3 separate regions of the Homo sapiens genome follow, and all the other regions are linked to region 3. Evidence: promoter capture Hi-C in 16 types of primary human blood cells and fetal thymus (Javierre and others, 2016). All regions are on one chromosome and are shown on one strand. The core of a region is centred on a gene start or on the middle of the fragment in contact, and the rest is flanking DNA. Distances in the headings are between cores, read along the strand shown.

Region 1 (4,486 bases), core at 920-3,419, 330 kb before region 3:
CAGGCTGGAGTGCAGTGGTGTGATCATAGCTCACTGTAACCTCCAACTCCTGGGCTCAAGGGATTCCCCAACCTCAGCTCCCAGAGTAGCTAGGACTACAGGCACATGCCACCATGTCCACCTAATTTTTTATTTTGTTTTGTAGAGACAAAATACAAAAATAAAATGTTTGTAGGGCCTTGCTATGTTGCGAAGGCTGGTCTCAAACTCCTGCCCTCAAGCAATCCTCCCACCTGGGCCTCACAAAGCACTGGAATTATAGGGGTAAGCGACCATGCTCAGCCAAAAATGTAGGTTTTAGTGTCTATAAAATACTACAGATTCTACCACTGAGCAACCCAAAACGTTCACATTATCAGACCCAGAGTGCTATAGGATAATTAAGATAATCAACAAGAAATGACAAATCCCTAATGCTTATTAGAAAACAGACAAGAGGCAATGAATTCAAACAGCCATGTCTGACCTTAGACAGACCGACCCTGAACAAAAACAGCCTTATCATATGCATGGTCTTTTAGCTAATCCTTACCTAGCCCTGGAATCTAAGACTGAAATTCCTTCTTACATGGAGAACCAGGAGCAAGTAAATTTAAAAAATGGATTTCATACCCCCCAAGAGTAAGAATCAGTAAGAGGTGGCAATTATCTTTCTCTACCTCATAAAAACCCTTTATGATTTTTAAAGATGAGGAAACAGGGGTTCGGGAAAATAAAGTAACTTGCCCAGTATCACAAAGTCATTAAGTAGTAGGAACAGGACTAGAATAGAGGTTTGTCTGCACCAAAGCCAGGGTTCTTTCTACCAAGCTATCTCCCTCCTCTAAAAAATATTCTCTTATATCAAAAGCTATGATAAGTTCTGTGGCATTCTCAGACCACTGTGGCTCACTACACCTATTAAAAGTAAAAAAAGAAACAAGAAAGGCAGCTGTCAAGAAGTTGTGCTACTTACTGCCCAGCACTATATGCACTAGAGCTTGGAAGGAGGCACTCAAACTCAATTCACGTGATCCTCACTGTCATTCCAAGCAATCAGTCCTACCCCAGCAAAAGGCTTATCACTAACACTCTCCCCCAGCTGAGGCTGCAAATGACATTCCCAAGACAACTTGCCAGTCTATTACATCATGCTGCTGTGTTGGCTTTAAATTTTTAACTCCAAAAATTAAGGGGAATTTGTTTCAACCTAAAAATGGCAGTTGCAAGTTAAAATGGCAGTTGTCACTACAGACTGGTGACTAGAGCACTGGCTTTGCAGTCATCCAGATTATGTTCCTAACCCAGTTCTGCCACTTAAATAAATGTGTAACCTTAGGCAGGTCAATTCACCTCTATAATTTCATATACAAAAATGGCAAGGTAGATAACTTTTCCATAAAAGATCAAATGAGATAATCCAATTCCTAGAGTCCAACACATAGAAAGAACGTGGAAAATAAATGATACATACTATTATTAACATTGGTATGATTCTCATGCCACAGGAATCTGGGCAAATCAATAATCCACATGGTCTGAATTCCTGATTATTTGCTATAACAATCAACTGGTTGAATCAGGACATCTGAGGCAAATGAAACACTGACTCAGTTCAGCTTGGTTGAGAGATAACCAATAGAGGCCCTGGCACATACCAATTGCTCAGTAAATATTTATGGAATTAAGTTTGCAGAAAGTCCACTCAGGAACCTCACTAGCTGTAAGATTCAGGAGGGCTCATTTTGGCAAAAAGAATGGCAACTTTTTTTTTCTACAGAATTTGGCAGGTTTTTCTTTTCTTATTTTCAAATAATATTAATAACTAAACAAACCATATACCAGGTGTCAATAGTGAGGTTTCTACAAATAAAACCAACATGGAAAACTACAAAAGCAGCATTCCAGAGTAGAGGAAAGAAAACCAGTTTGGGAATCAGGCAAGTGTGTGATTCATATGCCAGTAACTTTACAGTTATGTAAACATTATCTTGGGCCAAATAGTCACGTCAGACTCAGTTTCCATATCAGAAAATTGGAGATAAGAACACCTACTTCACAGGGTTGTCATAAAGCTAATATATGTGAAGCACCATGTAACAGTTGGTAATGAGTGATTTTTAAGTCTCTGATACCTGTTTTCCCTTCTAGACGATGGTAGAAACTTCCGGAATGGGTAAATTATGCCTAAGGGCAACTACTATCTTCCCTCCGGCTTTTTCGAAAGGTAAACTAAAATTCAGCCATATAGACAGGTCAATGGGCTCAAGTTGCAATTATCAGTGGGTCCACTCTGACAATTTTAAGGGGGACTCTTTCATGGAACTTCAGAGACCAGGAAAGAACCAGGCTCTGTTCTCTCCAGGTAGCCTAACTATTCCTTCCCTTCTCAGGCCTGCTCTAATATGAGGTTGCTAAAAGGTGTGCAAAGGAAGAGTCATCTTTGCAATAAACCAAAGATGCAGCATATAAGCAACAGGCCTTCTTTGAGAGCCCAAACCCAAATTAAGGCACGAAATTTTAGCACTGTTTGGAGACTGGAGGTAAAGGGGAGAAATGTTGGCATTAAAATAATACTTAAATGAGTACAGAGGAAGGAAGTCTTCCAGGCTCATTAATATTAATACATGTTTACTTTCCATTCACATGTGGGACAAAACAGAGTAATGATTTGCTAATGCCAATGAGCTGAGTACTTAGTTCATTTTACTATGCTGCATACCCTCAATTATATACTAGCAAAAATTAAACCTAAGTAAACAGAATACTCTACACGTCTCTAAAGACAATATTGCTCCACTCACTGAAATAAGACCCAATCAAGGCAAAAAAAAAAAAATCTTTTTTTCCTTCTTAAGTGAATTTCACTAAGAAAGATGAGTCAAGGAACTTTTAACAAATTTGGATTTCCATTTTCAACAAGGTAGGAACCCGTGTACCTCCTCCCACTCACCCCACCTCCAGAGAACTCACAATACTGTTACTAAAATATATTGAATGATGCCTTCCATTGGCCAATTACTTTTAACTGAATGCAATAAAAAGAATCCGCACTTCAAGACCTCACTAACAACTACAATTTTTCCCCCTCTTAAATTTCCAGTTCTGGAAAAAACTCGGTCAGCCCACTAAAAAGCAACTGTAACATTCCTTTTAATCCAGAAAAATAGAGACAAAAATACACCTATTATAATACACCTATTATACACCTATTATAATAACGCAAATATCCATTATACAGCATCAAGGAGAGCACATGCAATAATGGCTGCCATTCCAAGAACATTTTTGTTAAAAGTTACATCGCATGCACAGAAGCTGCTTTTCCAAAAGTAAACATATATTCATTACACTGAGCCTCACTGAAGCATCCTGTTCTTGTAAGGTGAGACTTGTAACCCACCTTTATATACAGAATCTAAAGACAACTGGGCCTTATATTGAACTCGCTCTCCAGTTAACTGTGTTAGTGAGGTTCCAGTACAGTTCCCCAAAGAAAGCAATTTGAATCAATAACCACACCAGTGCTACTCTGAATGTTTGCCAATAAGTAAATAAAATGCCTGACTCCAATATGAAGAACATTTTCCTCCTTCCTGGCTCCCCAGCTCCATTTAAAAATTGTAAACATGAATAGAAAGATAAACTTGAGAACAGCAAAGTCACCCATGCCATCAATAATATCCCTCTAACTCAGTGCCTAATTTTGCAGTTTTCCTCAAACAGGACAGTCTCAACCAGATGCCAGGAATTTAATATGGCTTTTCAAAGATATATCAAACTGTCTGGAATATGCAGTGATGAAAACTGAATATTGCTACTGAAACCATATTTAATTAAACACATGCTTGCTCAGAGCTTCAGAAATAAAGCTACAATGTTTTCTTCCTTGGCTCTCTTAGAAGCCACCCCAACAAGAGAGGGTCACCAGCTGCACTCCTGCTAACAGTTCTATCCTGAGCAACCCTTTCCCATCCACCCCCAAAAAGTTTTACTTTTATCTGTGGAATTCTCTGCCGGCCTCGGCCTGGAAAACTGGGTGGACCCTGAGGACAGGTGTCAGATCTGGCCTTTGGGAGGTGGCCCAAACTGACAAATTATTGGCAGCATAAAGCTATGATCTTTATAAACTTCAGTTTGAGGCTTTATGCCAGTAGTGATTCCCTCCCCGCTCCTTTTTTGAAGAGGGGAGAGAAAGCAAGCCAAAAGGATGAGTTTCAAAATAGAAAAAAATCACCACTTTAATTATGAAACCCTCCCAACTCAACAAAGAACTGTTAAAGGTAGCCAAATGGAAAATGTCAGGAGTTTTTTTTGGCACATGCGCAACTATTAAACATGAGAATTACAACCTCAAGGTGAGGGGAAAAGAGTAAAAAGCAGGAGCAGAAAAGGGGAGGACAGGGCCCAGCCAAAGACCCGTTTGCTCAAAAGGGCCCCTCTTGGTACTAACTCCTCCATGTGGGGCACCCAGGCTGGAGGAAAGCAGAGGGTTACACAGAACATT
Region 2 (4,816 bases), core at 99-2,598, 400 kb before region 3:
GAGCTCTTGCAGGTAAAACTCACAAAAGTGTGGTGGGGAGCCTGATGACTGGGTCCTCCTCAGTTTATATTTCTCAGACTTGTCCCACACTGAGCCTCCAGCAATTTTTCAATTACGGTTCAGGTTACCCTACCCAGGCACTGGTTCTCCCGGATGTTTCTGCTCCAGTGAGTTATGATTCTCTGTATTTGCCTGTCTCTCCAATTTGTGGGGCAGCAGCTTCTCCTGTGACCTCACTTCTCTTATGAATCTAAGTAGAATGGTTGATTTTTCAGTTTGTTCAGATTTTTACTTGTTGTCAGGACAAGTAGCAACTTCTTACGTACCAAACCCACTCCCTTCTTTTAATCTTTCCAGTGTTCCCAAGTTAACAATATTGTTGATATTTAATGGGAGATGAGAATGTTTTCAAAGATTGAACTATTTAAAATAGACTCTGTGCACCTATTTCTTGACATGTACAATACTATCATAATTTGTAGTGACTCTACAGTTTACTGCAAGTGAACAAGATTTTATAAATGAGGTAGACACTGAAATATAATATCTACAATAGCAAAGCTTGCTTTTAACTTCTGACCTAATGGAACCTGAGTTATTTTTTAAAGTGATTAGTGATCAAGGATTGGTGCAGAATAGAGCAAAAAAAAGGTTTCCAACCACTGGTCTAGATAATCTCTTCAAAGCGCACTTCTGCTCTACTATTCTATGTCTTATTAAGTCAAATGGATGTGCCACAATTAAGAGAATTCTTCAGAAAACACATCTAGTGTAAATGAATTCCAAGCCCACAGCCAGACTATGCTTTGACAAAGTTGTTATAAACCATTCTTAACTATTCCTTAAAGAAAAACTACCAGTATTATTGCAGCACTATTCACAATAGCAAAGACTTGGAACCAACCCAAATGTCCAACAATGATAGACTGGATTAAGAAAATGGAATACTATGCAGCCATAAAAAATGATGAGTTCATGTCCTTTGCAGGGACATGGATGAAGCTGGAAACCATCATTCTCAGCAAACTATCGCAAGGACAAAAAACCAAACACCGCATGTTCTCACTCATAGGTGGGAATTGAACAATGAGAACACCTGGACACAGGAAGGGGAACATCACACACTGGGGCCTGTTGTGGGGTTGGGGGAGGGGGGAGGGATAGCATTAGGAGATATACCTAATGTTAAACGAAGAGTTAATGGGTGCAGCACACCAACATGGCACATGTATACATATGTAACAAACCTGCACGTTGTGCACATGTACCCTAAAACTTAAAGTATAATAAAAAATAAATAAATAAATAAATAATAAAATAAAACGATATATTGATAGAAAAAAAGAAAAACCACCAGTATTAAATAGTAGCATATGTCACACTTTCTAGAGTATACTGGTAGCCACAGGTTAGGGCTATCAAGTATATATAAAAATAGAGTTCGGTGGGCCAGGAGCAGTGGCTTACACCTGTAATCTCAGCACTTTGGTAGGCCGAGGCAGGAGGATCATTTGAGGTCAAGAGTTTGAGACCAGCCTGGCCAGCATAGCGAAACCTCATCTCTACTAAAAACACAAAAAATTAGCCAGGCCTGGTGGCAGGCACCTGTAGTCCCAGCTACTCAGGAGGCTGAGGGAGGAGAATCGCTCACTTGAACCCAGGAGGTGGAGGTTGCAGTGAGCCGAAATCATGCCACTGCACTCCAGCCAGGGTGACAGAGCGAGACTCTGTCTCAAAAAGTAAGAAAAAAAAAATTAAAAATAGAGTTCCGTGGTCAAATAAGTTTTGGAACTTGGGAAACACTGGGTGTCTGTCTCTATTGTAGGCATTCTCAGAGCCTTTATATGCTACTGTATCCTGTGAATTTCTAAGCTGGAGACACAGCATGCAGTGTTATCTAAACTTCCTTGGAGGGCATTATTATTCTCTGCCTAGAATGCCTGCCAACATCCTCTAGATTCACATCCACAGAATATCTTTTGGCAAACACTGCCATACATATAGGAAACCAACAGAACAGTTTCTTATATTCTATAATTCAGAGTGCGTTTGACCTAGGTAGCTGAATTACTAAAATTCCACTATTTCACTTTTTAAAAAACAAACAAAAAATAAAAATTAAAAAAAAAAGCAGAAAAGCTTTATTTCACCCAAAATAGAACAATAACAGAAAACAGGGCCAAGATGGAGAAAGCCCACTACAATCTATCTCTCCAGTTGATTATAACTAAACACTCCTGATAAAAACTAGTTAAGAACTCTGAAAAGTAAGGGGAAAGAGGGGACAACAGGTAGATGTGGCAAGGGGTCAAAATGTGAAGAAACAATCTGCATGGGGGTGAATTTGCCATTATTTTTCTTTGTTGTTTTCTGTTTTCTTTCTTTTTTTTTTTATTTTTTATTGAGACAGAGTCTTGCTCTGAATTGCAGTGGTGTGATCCTGGCTCACTGCAACCTCTGCCTCCTGGGTTCAAGCAATTCTCATGCCTCAGCCTCCCGAGTATCTGGGATTACAGGTGCCCACCACCACGCCCAGCTAATTTTTTGTATTTTTAGTAGTGACAGGGTTTCACCATGTTGGCCAGGCTGGTCTTGAACTCCTGGCCTCAAGTGATCCACCCGCCTCAGCCTCCCAAAGTGCTGGGATTACAGGCATGAGCCACCACACCCGGCTTTTTCTCTTTTCTTCCTTCTGTGGCTTTTGCTCAAAGGCAGGCCCTTGACCAGGAAGCTATACAGTGAAATAGCAAAACATGCAGCTAAAATTCTGAAAGAAATCCCTCTAGGCAGAGGGGCTGGAAAAAAAGAGATCCCTGGGGGTTTCTTTTCTCTCTTCTCTCACAGGGCTCATGGCTCCAGTCATGACGACACACTGCAGAACAATGGAAAAGATAAAAAAATTCCAAGAGTGACCCAATTTTTCTGGCCAGAGGAAAAGGAAAAAAGTGTCCTTATGGGCTGAAGAGACTTAGGGAAATCCAAGAGGAAAGAACTGGAAATAAAAGAACCCAAACAACACATGACTTGGGCTTACCCTTGAGCTGTATATGCGCAGAACAGACTGAACCAGCACAGCAAAGGCTGTCTCAATGAGCTGATATTTAAAGCACTGCTGAAGCCTCAGATTAACCTCTAAGTAGTGAAAGCCCATGACAGACGCAAAGTGGCATATTGCAAAGGCTTTGAACAGTGGAAAAGAGATTAGAGCCATCCCCGCAACCCCTCTGATGATGTCAAGACAGAACTTGTGTTCTGAACCCAACTAAGTTGACTAACTGCTTAAAAACACACTTACCCAAAAACATTGTCCAGAGGATTATAACAGGACCCACAGTCTTTACAACATAATATCCACAATGCCCAAAATACTAGTTTAAATTACCTGGCATACAAAAATCAAGAAAGATGAACAATCTCAGGGGACTGGACAATCAACAGATGTCAAGCTGGAGGTTACCCAGATGCTGACATGGTTAAAGATGTTAAGCACCTACTCTATACTCCACAGGATAAAGATAAACGTGCTTGAGGTAAATAAAAAAGAGAGAATTCTCAGCAGAGAAATAGAAACTGTAAAATATCATACCTGAAATTAAAAACTCACTTGATGGGGCGGAGGGTAACAGGAGAATAGAGATGAAGAGATGAAAAATTCAGTCAACTTGAAGATAGGCCAATAGAAATTATCCAGAAAAGGGAGGAACAAAGATTGAAAACAATGTGGAACAATATCAAAAGATATAGTATTTATGTGATTAGAGTCTCAGAAGGAAAGGAGAAATTGGTACAGAAAAAAATATTTGAAAAAATAATGGCTGAAGACTTCTGAAATGTAATGAATGAAAGACGTAAATTTACACATTCATGAAGCTCAGAGAAAGGCTTCTTGGATATAATATCGAAAGCATGATCCATAAAAGAAAAAACTGGTAAGTTGGACTTCATCAAAATTAAAATCTTCTGTCAAGTACAGTGGCTCACGCCTGTAATCTCAGCACTTTGGGAGGCCAAGGTAGGCAGATCACCTGAGGCCAGGAGTTCAAGACCAGCCGGGTCAACATGGTGAAACCCCGTCTCCACTAAAAATACAAAAATTAGCTGGGCATGGTGGCTCATGCCTGTAGTCCCAGCTATTTGGGAGGCTAAGGCACAAGTATTGCTTGAACCCAGGAGGTGGAGGTTGCAGTGAGCCGAGATCATGCCACTGCACTCCAGCCTGGGTGACAGAGTGAGACTCCATCTCAAAAAAAAAAAAAAAAAAAAATTAAAATCTTTTGCTCCATTAAAGAGATCATTAAGAAAATGAGAAAATGAAAAGACGGCCAGGCATGGTGGTTTACGCCTGTAATCGGGGCACTTTGGGAGGCCGGGGCAGGTGGATCACCTAAAGTCGGGAGTTTGAGACCAGCCTGACCAACATGGAGAAACCCTGTCTCTAATAAAAATACAAAAAAGTAGCTGGGCATGGTGGCTCATGCCTATAATCCCAGCTACTCGGGAGGCTGAGGCAGGATAATCGCTCAAACCCGGGAGGCGGAGGTTGCAGTGAGCTGAGATCGTGCCATTGCACTCTAATCTAGCCCAGGCAAGGGTAAAACTCCGTCTCAAAAAAAATTTTTTTTAAATAAAAAGAAAATGAAAAGACAACTCACTAATTGGGAAAAATATATGCAAAACATATCTAGCAAAGGACGTATCTAGACTACATAAAGAACTCTAAAAACTCAGTAATAAAAAAACAAAGAACCCATTTTAAAATGGGTAAAAGATCTGAAAAGAAACTTCACCACAGAATATAGAGATGGCAGGTAAGCAC
Region 3 (4,524 bases), core at 1,122-3,621:
GGAGGCTGAGGTAGAAGGATCACTTGTACCTGGGAGGTCAAGGCTGCAGTGAGCTGTGATCTGGCACTGCACTCCAGCTTGGGCGATAAAGCAAGAACCTGTCTCGAGAAACCAAACCAAGCCCTCCACACATCCCCCAAACCTAACTCACTACCACAGTATGTTTGAAAAGCTAGGGATCTGTGCCAACACCCTTAGGAAAAAGTCTTTCCCTTCCCAACAATCTACTTATTAAGCAATAATTTTTTTTATATGTTAACCTGCAACACACCTGAGTTAATTTCACTAAACCACAATTAACTCTTAATTATCATGACAATAATGGAGAATAAAAGCGTCCATAATCAAATTCCAGAAATAATCCTTTTAGTACAAGAGCCTCTTCCCTGACCCCAGTTACATCAGGGCCCATGTCCTCTCTCCAAAAGAAAATAAAGACGTTTGGTGGTTAATGTTCCTTTTTCTAAACTTCATGTACAGCAGAGCTTACGGTCCAGAGAACTCAGTCCTCAAAGAAACTGATACTATAGCTATCTAACTGGATACCACCGGTAATAAATTACCCAAAGCTAAGATTTCACGCTTTTTAAAGCCCATATTAATAATGCCTGTCTGGTCATAAGTCACACTACCAAAAGGCTTAAATAAATTAATCCACATACATTACGGAGAAGAGCAAAATGCTTATGACAATATTAAAATGAGTGTGAAAAAAATTTAATTAAAACTAAACACTAGCGATAACAAATACTAATATATTTCAGAATCATTAATGATCAACACAATTAGAGGAAGATTCATTTTGATCCTTCAATTTCACCTTAACCCAAGGCTGTTTTAAATCGTGCCCTTTTTATCTTCCTGCTTTGTTGTCACTGAGGATCTCAATATGCCAGTAATAATGCTACGACATAAAATACACTATAAAGTAGCATTTTCATGGACTTTTTCAAGACAACTTCCACTGAGTTCTCAAGTTATTTACCCAGGATTTAGTCATACAGGATACCCACAGATTTTAATAAAGTGGCATGGCTAACCATCATGGAATTCAGGAAATCCATTAGCCAAAAAACTTAGGTGTACATGGTTTGTGAAGAGAGCTTAAGTGACAGGGCAAGCAACTGGTCTAAATGTTAGTATGCTACGAAAAAGTTGTAAACCCTCCCATACCCAAACAATTTAAAAATTTACAGACATGCACATTTTAAGGCAGCTAACATTAGGTCACAAATCAAACCAACGCTGTCATCTTTGCCTAAAGGCTGTTTATCACTAAAATATTCTACAGAATGGACGTAACCAAAGGTCACTTAAATAAAGATAGAACTAATTTTATTATTATACTGCCATACTACAACTACTACTGATTGAATTAAAATACCTATCCTCAGCACGCTTTTACTATAAAGTAGGAGTGCGTTCCCGTGTTAGAAAACTTTTAAAGTACTGATCTTACTGGGTGGGGTAAGTCAGGGTCCAACTGCACTTGTACTTTTATCCTACATATTTTCCTTCTACGTAAGACAGATGGGAATGTGATTAGCCCACCCCGACAGCACACCGGCCTAACACCCCCAAGCTCTAGCTAGGAGCCACGTTTTACCCGGGAAGACCGTTTCCCCACCCCTCCTTAATACAATGCCTGCGGCCACTGGAGACTCCTCCAGCCGAGCTCCAGAAACTCGCAGGTTTAAATGGCCAATCTGGAACCAACCGGGGCAGCTGTCATCTGAAACTCAGGAAAGCTGAGACCAGCCAACTCCACAGAACAAGGAAGGGTGCGGAAAGATGTGGCGGGGCCCGTCGGAGGGAACGCATCAAGCTCCCTCCCCCCGCCATCAATTCGCTTTTCTGCAACCCCGGCGCCGCCATCCTGATCCTCAATAATTAAACGGCCTGGAGAGGGAGTGAGGTGGCCAGAAGGGCAGCTTCGGGTCCGACTTCCCCGAGCCGAGCGGGGCGGTCGGCGAGGCCAAGGGCTACGTCCCCGGCGCTCAGAGGACTTTTCTTCAGGGCTGGGGCGGGAAGGGGCGACCCCCGCGGCTGGCAGGACAGCCGGAAGCGGAGCGCGGGGAATGACGTGGAAGAGGGGATGACAAAGGGGCGCGGGGGCCCGGCGCGGCCCGCGGGGGTCGGGACAGGTGGCCGGGCCTGGCCGGGAACAATGGGGGGCCGAGGCTGCCCCCTGGCGCTCACCTACCTCCGGTGCCCTCCGAGTTCTCGTTGAGGCTGCCCGAGGAGTCGTGCTGGGCGCCCACACACCCGCCCATGGGGGCCCCCGGCGCCTCGTCCGCCACCTCCGGACGCTCGTCCGGGCCCGCCGCCGCCGCCGCTGCAGCCTCCTCCGGCGCCACCGCCGAGCTCCGGACAGGCGCGCCGCTCCGCTCGCCCGCCGCGGCCCAGCCTCCGCCCCCCTCGCCGCTCCACCCACCGCCTTGGCTCGGCCCCTTCCTCCGCGCCCACTTCTACCTCAACCCCCGGGCCGCCCGCCCGGCAGGCCTGGCCCGCGCGCCGCCCTCGCCTTCGGCTCAGCCCCGCCAGGCCAGGGCTGGCCCATCCCGGGCGGGCCGCAGCGCCCGCCTCGCCCCCTCACAGCCCCGCACACCCGAGTCCAGGCGAGCCCCGCGCCGGCGCCTCGCGTCCGCCAGGACCCATCGGCCCCCGGCCCGCGGCGCCGCCCTCCGCACCCACGGCCTGGGCTCGGCCCGGCCCGCCCGGAATCGCCGGAGAAGGGCGGGGCCACCGGAGGCCGCGCTCTGATTGGCTGCGGGCGGGGCTGCGAGCGGAGCGGGGCGAGGGTGAGGCGGGGGAGGGGACGCAGGGGGCTAGGTGGGGGGAGGACTGCAGGCGGGGGGAGGACTGGAGGCGAGGGGAGGAGGAGAGAGGGAGGACGGGAAGAAGAAAGGAGAGGGAAGAAGGGAGGGAAAGCAGGAAAAAGCCGAACAAAAGTGAGAAAAGAGGAGTGGGAAGGGGCGAAATCGAGTTCCTGGCTCCTCGGCCGTCGGCTCCTTCTTGCTGGTGGAAGCGGGTCGCACGGGGGAACCGAGAAGTAGTCGTGGAAGACTCGCAGGCGGGGACGGGGCGGTTTCCCAAATAACGGGGGCTCGGGGGAGAGTGTCCTGGCCGAACGTTGAGGTCCCAGCGCCCTTTGAATTTGTATGGCGCTCCGTGGGTTGGTACCCCGAATCTGGGCTTCCTCTTGCCTGCCCACCCCCGTCTTCCCTAAAATCATGGGGCCCCATTATTAGGGGTGGAGGCAGTGGTTGTGGCAAACCAAACTGAGATTAGAGGCGAGGCGTCCTGATGGAACGCCTGGAAAGAAGAGATAAACGCTGACCTTAGTTCAGGGGGCGTGGGTTTCTTTCATTTTCACGGGATTAATGATTCAAACAATACTACTTATCAAGATCCTGCCTTTGGGTATCTTAAATCGTCCTTAGGCCAAAGTGAAGTGTAAATGAGTGAAACACCCTGCCTTTTCGAATCTAGAATTTGGGACATTGACCACGCCCAACATTCTTGGCGGTTACTTTTCCAATCTCAGCCAAATTGTTAATGGTCCCTTTAGAATTGTGCTTCGTGCTATGATGCCTTAAAATTGTTATCATCCTGCTTGGGACTTTCTAAAGCTTATTTCTGCCTAAGAAGCTGTTTTAACTATCTGCTCCATTTTTATATCAGACTTTCTTTTTTTAACATCCTGGGTCAGCTTTTGCTTAGCACGAAAAAAAATTTTTTAAGTTGAAATACCTAAGAAAGAGATGCTCTGCAGCTTGGGATTTGCATTTAAATATATTCTCATACATTGCTGGTGGGAGTGTAAATTGGTTCAATCTTTTTTGCAAAGCAATTTGGCAATGCAGATCAAGAGCCTTAAAAATGTTCATATCCTTTGACTCGGGATTATTCCACATCTGGAAATCTAGCTCACAGAAATAGATCAAGCTATTATACAAAGATTTAGATCTCTGTATTCATTTGATAAAAAGACAGTAGACAAGCAAAACCTACACTTAGGTTAAAACACAGAAATGTCGTGAGATATAGAAATCTGCTATATTAAACTCATCCTGAAGAATTAGTATTGTCCTCAGTTGTGGTCCTGAACATTCCAAAAAGAGCTTATGCCATCGATGTTATTATGAGTTTTCAGAGGTTGCTCTGACATCAGGGGCTGTGTCACAAAGCCTTCTGTCTGATCATTTTCAACTAACTATACACGTTGGCAGACACATCACTTCATCACTTCCCTGAAGAAGAGAAGCTGCATGCCGAATATTTGCAAAGAGATTGCTTTGTCCTGAATTTCACTCTAGAAATTGCAGAAACCAAGACTTCCACGATGTCTATTAAACAGATGGTAGGCACCCAAATGATGAGGGCTCTCCGATGAGCACTGAGGAGTTGGCACTAGGAAGAGAGAGCAATCTCGGGGAGAGATTCTCAGCAATAGATGTTCTCCACCCTGCCTTTATCTTAGAGACACATTTCCCAGGAGGCAGAGTAGTGTCGCAGTCAGGG

What was found. The method cuts DNA at HindIII sites, captures the fragments that hold promoters and counts their contacts. A CHiCAGO score of 5 or more calls a contact.
Region 1: a contact is called between a fragment that was not itself captured here and the fragment with the promoter of UBTD2 in region 3, in 1 of 17 cell types (total CD8 T cells). The highest score is 5.8, in total CD8 T cells.
Region 2: a fragment that was not itself captured here is called in contact with the fragment with the promoter of UBTD2 in region 3 in 2 of 17 cell types (non-activated CD4 T cells and total CD8 T cells); the score reaches 6.4 in non-activated CD4 T cells.

The regions. Positions count from the first base shown.
Region 1 is chr5:171,953,012-171,957,497 of GRCh38, forward strand. All of the region lies in intron 2 of FBXW11 (F-box and WD repeat domain containing 11), which reads right to left. Among named protein-coding and RNA genes, the nearest start is that of FBXW11, 51 kb to the right of the region's middle. The HindIII fragment of the contact is 6,782 bases long and covers 1-4,486 here.
Region 2 is chr5:171,885,285-171,890,100 of GRCh38, forward strand. All of the region lies in intron 7 of FBXW11 (F-box and WD repeat domain containing 11), which reads right to left. Among named protein-coding and RNA genes, the nearest start is that of SMIM23, 100 kb to the left of the region's middle. The HindIII fragment of the contact is 1,578 bases long and covers 560-2,137 here.
Region 3 is chr5:172,281,393-172,285,916 of GRCh38, forward strand. UBTD2 (ubiquitin domain containing 2) reads right to left here and starts at 2,372. Exons shown (of 3, transcript NM_152277.3): 1 at 2,204-2,372. The coding sequence starts at 2,273. LOC100288254 (a long non-coding RNA gene) reads left to right here and starts at 4,205. Exons shown (of 2, transcript NR_130933.1): 1 at 4,205-4,363. RefSeq lists a silencer at 1,965-2,874 and enhancers at 2,449-3,049, 3,050-3,649. The HindIII fragment of the contact is 4,236 bases long and covers 1-3,630 here.